2 separate regions of the Homo sapiens genome follow, and region 1 is linked to region 2. The links are contacts of gene promoters, found by promoter capture Hi-C in blood cells and fetal thymus (Javierre and others, 2016). All regions are on one chromosome and are shown on one strand. Each heading gives the region's core, a stretch centred on a gene start or on the middle of the fragment in contact. The rest is flanking DNA. Distances are from core to core; before and after follow the strand shown.

The links. The method cuts DNA at HindIII sites, captures the fragments that hold promoters and counts their contacts. A CHiCAGO score of 5 or more calls a contact.
Region 1: a contact is called between the fragment with the promoter of FFAR3 here and the fragment with the promoter of LSR in region 2, in 2 of 17 cell types (monocytes and neutrophils). The highest score is 7.4, in monocytes.

Annotation. Positions count from the first base shown.
Region 1 is chr19:35,357,198-35,360,243 of GRCh38, forward strand. FFAR3 (free fatty acid receptor 3) reads left to right here and starts at 1,263. Exons shown (of 2, transcript NM_005304.5): 1 at 1,263-1,452; 2 at 1,683-3,046. The coding sequence starts at 1,694. The coding sequence ends at 2,734. RefSeq lists an enhancer at 2,584-3,046. The HindIII fragment of the contact is 8,969 bases long and covers 1-3,046 here.
Region 2 is chr19:35,247,412-35,250,257 of GRCh38, forward strand. LSR (lipolysis stimulated lipoprotein receptor) reads left to right here and starts at 1,591. Exons shown (of 10, transcript NM_205834.4): 1 at 1,591-1,720. The coding sequence starts at 1,612. RefSeq lists enhancers at 175-344, 478-1,280, 1,281-2,082 and silencers at 1,195-1,274, 1,685-1,754. The HindIII fragment of the contact is 9,039 bases long and covers 1-2,846 here.

The DNA of each region.
Region 1 (3,046 bases), core at 13-2,512, 110 kb after region 2:
CTACCTCCATCCCCCAGACAACCACGAGTCTACTTTCTGACTCTATAACTTTGCCTATTCTGGACATATCATATAAATAAATGAAATCTGACAATATATGTACATGGTCTTTTACGTCTGGCTTGTTTCACTCAACATAAGGCTGTAGTGTGTATGGGTAGCTCATTCCTTTTCTTTGCCAAATAGAATTCCAGTATATGGATGTGCCACTTTTTTATTCACTCACCAGCTGATGGGCTGCCAGGTAACATTTCCACTGTTGGTGACTATGACCAACACTGCTGTGAACATTTAGGACTGAGTCTTTAAGTAGACCTGAGTTTCCACTTCTCTTAAGTAAATACCTACGGTGGAATTGTTGGATCGCATGGTGAATTTATGTTTAACTTTTTAAGCAACTGCCACCTGCTTTCCAAAGCAGGGACACCACCTCCCATTATTCTCACCAGCAGTGAATGAGGCCCCTATCTCTCTACATTCTCGCCGACCATAGGCATTGTCTGACTTTTTGCTTGTGGCCATTCTAGTGGATGTGAAATCATATCTCATTGTGCCCTGTGATTGTTTGAATGAACTAATAGATCACCTGTGAAACTGGACAGCACTTGGGTTTGAACCCTAGTGGTGACATTTCACAAGCTGTATCACCTGGAGCAAGTCACTTCCCTACGGTGAAGGACAAGGATTTTATGACATAAAAGCGTTGCCCTAGAAGCAGTGTCTGCTATGGATTATGTGCCCATGAAAAGGCAGCTGCTGTCATCATCGCCACCACCATTATTATTGTTATTATTATTACATTGTCACCCCAGAGATAATCCTGCACCAGTGACAGGGAAAATAGCAGCTGGCATCCGCTGCCTGCTCACGACCACACGCCAGGCTTCCGTCAAACCACTCAACATGTATTAGTAATCTTTTAATCGACCTACATATTGTTTTAATTTGCATGTGTTAATGCGTTGATCTATGAGATGGGTATTATGATGAGCTCTGTTCTGCAGGGGAGAAAGCAGAAACATGGAGAATTTAAGTCATTTCCCCCAAATCACAAAGTCAGGAAGAAACAGACCTCACGGAGCTCGCTCTCTGTCATTGCATCACACTTCCTGCCCTTACAAGGCAAATTGGATAAATGCCATTCTAGAGAAGCAGACAAAATTCAAGTGAAGAAGGGGAGAGGAAGACGTCGGCTGGGGCCTGCTTAGAGCATCCCAGCTGAGACTGCATGAGGAGGGAGGCACGCAGTTGTGGAATTTGTTCCCCTTTTAGCATGCTGACCAGCCCTGGCAACGGAGCTCAAGGCATCTATGTGCCACTGCTCAACAGTGAGTGACGTCATGGGCACGGCCAGGTCTTTATCAGTTCTGCCGGATAAATAGCCAACTGCACTAGGTCTGGAGAGACAGCAAGGTGCTGTGCGGCAGAGCATTTGGGGTCTCAAAGAAGCAGGTGAGCCTGGGCCCGAGGGGCTGGGTGGAGGAGCACCTTGGTGCTTCTCTGCTGGGGAAGGGACAGGGGACAGGGCATGCTCAGGAAGACAGGCAGGCTGACCCCGCCTGGAAGGCACCCAGAGACAAGAGGGGTGGGCGTAGTGACCTCGTGCCCTTTTAGGGGAGATGCTGCTGGCCAGAGGCCGTTAGGGCCCCCACTACCAACTCCATGTTACTCTCTCTCACCAGTGGCCACCACCATGGATACAGGCCCCGACCAGTCCTACTTCTCCGGCAATCACTGGTTCGTCTTCTCGGTGTACCTTCTCACTTTCCTGGTGGGGCTCCCCCTCAACCTGCTGGCCCTGGTGGTCTTCGTGGGCAAGCTGCAGCGCCGCCCGGTGGCCGTGGACGTGCTCCTGCTCAACCTGACCGCCTCGGACCTGCTCCTGCTGCTGTTCCTGCCTTTCCGCATGGTGGAGGCAGCCAATGGCATGCACTGGCCCCTGCCCTTCATCCTCTGCCCACTCTCTGGATTCATCTTCTTCACCACCATCTATCTCACCGCCCTCTTCCTGGCAGCTGTGAGCATTGAACGCTTCCTGAGTGTGGCCCACCCACTGTGGTACAAGACCCGGCCGAGGCTGGGGCAGGCAGGTCTGGTGAGTGTGGCCTGCTGGCTGTTGGCCTCTGCTCACTGCAGCGTGGTCTACGTCATAGAATTCTCAGGGGACATCTCCCACAGCCAGGGCACCAATGGGACCTGCTACCTGGAGTTCCGGAAGGACCAGCTAGCCATCCTCCTGCCCGTGCGGCTGGAGATGGCTGTGGTCCTCTTTGTGGTCCCGCTGATCATCACCAGCTACTGCTACAGCCGCCTGGTGTGGATCCTCGGCAGAGGGGGCAGCCACCGCCGGCAGAGGAGGGTGGCGGGGCTGTTGGCGGCCACGCTGCTCAACTTCCTTGTCTGCTTTGGGCCCTACAACGTGTCCCATGTCGTGGGCTATATCTGCGGTGAAAGCCCGGCGTGGAGGATCTACGTGACGCTTCTCAGCACCCTGAACTCCTGTGTCGACCCCTTTGTCTACTACTTCTCCTCCTCCGGGTTCCAAGCCGACTTTCATGAGCTGCTGAGGAGGTTGTGTGGGCTCTGGGGCCAGTGGCAGCAGGAGAGCAGCATGGAGCTGAAGGAGCAGAAGGGAGGGGAGGAGCAGAGAGCGGACCGACCAGCTGAAAGAAAGACCAGTGAACACTCACAGGGCTGTGGAACTGGTGGCCAGGTGGCCTGTGCTGAAAGCTAGGTCCTCCGGGGGAGGAGGGTGTAGCTGGCATGTCATCCTCAGGGCGCTTCCTCGCTCACGCCAGGAGGGACTTGGAGTGGCGAGCTGGGGCCCGATGGGGCTTGGGGGCAGAGTAGACATCTAGCCTCCCTAAGGGTATGCGCGCTAAAGCCCAGCTCTCGATCTCACCTCCATCCCCATCCACCCACACACTATGGATTGGGCTCTGGGAAGGGGTCAGGGTGAGAGGCTGCTCTGGAGAACAATGAGGTCCTCATAGCAGCAGGCAGCTCCTGTGTTTTCTTGAGGGTGGCAGAGGAGCTAAGAGCAGTG
Region 2 (2,846 bases), core at 341-2,840:
CACTGAATTTTACACTTGAAGTGGTTAAAGCGATAAATATTATAGTTTGCATATTTTATCATAAAAATATTTTTTTAAACGATGAAGGGACGTGAACGGGTTGAAATTTTATAAAAAGTGGCCAGGGAAGGTGTCACTGCAATGGTGTCCTACAGGAGGAGGAAGATCATGTGGACATCTGCGGGAAGGGTGTTCTGGCAGAGGGAGTAGCACGGGCGATGGCTCTGAGGACTGTGAGAAGTATAGTTGGAAACAGCGAGGAGGCCAGGGTGTCCGAAGCTGAGTAAGCCAGAGAGAGTGGGAGGAGGTGAGATAAGAGGGGGAAGGTCAGTTTCTGCTGAGAGTGAGGAGGAGCCACAGGAGGGCTGTGAGCAGGTGGACGTGATCTGGCTTGAGTTTTAACAGGGCCAGTAGAACAAAGCACGCCTGGGTACCGAAACCAGCCACTGGCCAGTTGGCAACCTGGGGGAGTCTAACGCGAGGAAGCGCCCAGGGTTCCCCCAGGATGCGCTTTCCCTCGCCGCCACCTGGAGACAGCAGAGTCACGCCCAGCGCTGCGCAGGCTGATCGCCGCGCCGCGCCCCCGCCCTCGGTCGCAGGTGGCTCGTTCCGGGAATTCCTAAGCGGAAACCGGTCCCAAGCCCCGCGCCTTCGCTCGGCCCCTTTAAGAGCCAGAATTTCCGGAGGGCTGACCCGGGGGCTAGGGATGCCCAGGGGCCGAACCACAAGTTGGGAACGGGTGGGGGAGGTGGCGAAAACTTCCGAAGTGGAATTCCAACTTTTCCTGGCCCTGATTCCCCTTGGGCATCCCTGAGGGGGCAGAGCTTCCCTTCCGGGGACTTTAGAGGGTTCCTCAGGTCATCTAACTGGGAGACACAGGAGGCCCGAAGCGCCCCCCCTCCACCCGGTCCGGAGGAACCCCAGTGGAAGTGGAGAAGTCAGGCGCCACCAACAAGCCTCTCCCAGCCAGGACTTTGCTTAGACTCGCTCCTCCCGGCAGGGCGCACCTAGGCGGGTCCATCGCCAGCCGGGGAGAGGGGTTTGGGCAGGGAGGGAACAGGTGCGCGGCGGGACCCGCCCTATCTCAACAGGTGAATCGCTCCAAGTGGGTCTCGGTTGCATGGATCTCGGTGCGCTTGGTTTGGCCGGAGCAGATGGGGGCCGGAAGGGACCTGTGGTCCGCAGGCGCCCTCCCAGCGGGCCAGTCACTTGGTTCGGGCCCTGGGGGACGGAGCGCACCTGGGTCAGCCCACTTCCGGGGAGGGAGGCAGAGGAACCCCTCCCCGCCGCTCACCCCTAAGCCCAGCCCTCGGCTCCCACCCTTGTGTACCTGGGCCGAACCATTCACCGGAGCGCGCAGCGGGTGGAGTGTGGCTCGGAGGACCGCGGCGGGTCAAGCACCTTTCTCCCCCATATCTGAAAGCATGCCCTTTGTCCACGTCGTTTACGCTCATTAAAACTTCCAGAATGCAACAGGACGGACTTGGAGTAGGGACAAGGAACGGAAGTGGGAAGGGGAGGAGCGTGCACCCCTCCTGGCCTTGGTGCGCGCCGCGCCCCCTAAGGTACTTTGGAAGGGACGCGCGGGCCAGACGCGCCCAGACGGCCGCGATGGCGCTGTTGGCCGGCGGGCTCTCCAGAGGGCTGGGCTCCCACCCGGCCGCCGCAGGCCGGGACGCGGTCGTCTTCGTGTGGCTTCTGCTTAGCACCTGGTGCACAGGTACGGGGCACGGGGCCTCTGACGCTGCGGAACGCCGGAGGGAACTGTAGAGGGGGATGGATGGAGTTGGAGGCGGCGGGAAGCGGGAAGCGGGGGTCTCAGAGGCTGGGACCTTCCGATCCCCTGGGTCTTGGGCGATCTGTTGCGCGCGGGAGTGAGAGGAATTCCCCATTTGTGCCGGGGAGCGCTCCCCGCGCCCTTATCTGGAAGATAGCAGGAAGTGAAACTCCCTGGACGGTGAGACCCGGAGCGGCAGGGAGAATGGAACTCTTTGTGGGGAGGGAGTGGAAGACCGCCCGATCTCTGGGAAAAGAAAAGCCGGGATGGGACTTGGGCGCACCCGGGGATTTCTAAGTTTTGGAGTAACGGGGAGAGGGCACGGGAGGGCTGGATCAGACGCTTCCTAGAGGGACAGAGACGAAGGAACAATGCCTAGGCCTCGGGTGGGTGTGGGACTGGGGACTCCCCATCCCCCGCACCCCACCCACCTCCCGCGGGCTCCGGATTATACGTGCGTAAGAGTCTGGTGGGATGGATTTACGGACTTGAAACCGACTTCTGCTGGCAGGCTTTCACCTGGATGGGATATTTGGGTGGTGATGAGGTCTTTCCCGAGACACTTTTGGTTCAGTCATTTGAAATGACTTTAGAGTAGGGTGAGGTGGTGGGAGGCTGATGGAGATATTGTGGGGGCTTTAGTCCCTCCATGGCAAAGCAGTTCAGGCAAACAACTCCATGGTTTTCCCTCCAAATTCAAAAGGCCCCGGGTAACCTGGAATCCTTCGTAGTCGGTTTTGAAGTGGGGCCTTGGGCGCTGGGGGCATCAACATGGCCATCTGGGCTTGCCTGCCCAGGCCACACAGAGGCCCCTTGTTGTGGGTGAATGGCAAAGGGAAGAGGGGACTGGTGTGGTTCAGAGGCCACAGGCTGGGAAGAGGGATGGCGGGCGAGTCCAAGGAAACTGGCCGTGTCACCGTGCACCTGCCACTTCAGCCCCACGGGTCTATAAAATGGGCATGATTATCGTGGCTACCTCACTGGTCCTGGCAATTAAGGAACAATGTGTGCCAGGCACTCTGTAAACCACATACTTGCGAGTGTCAAGCTGGTGACAGGTGGCGTTCCT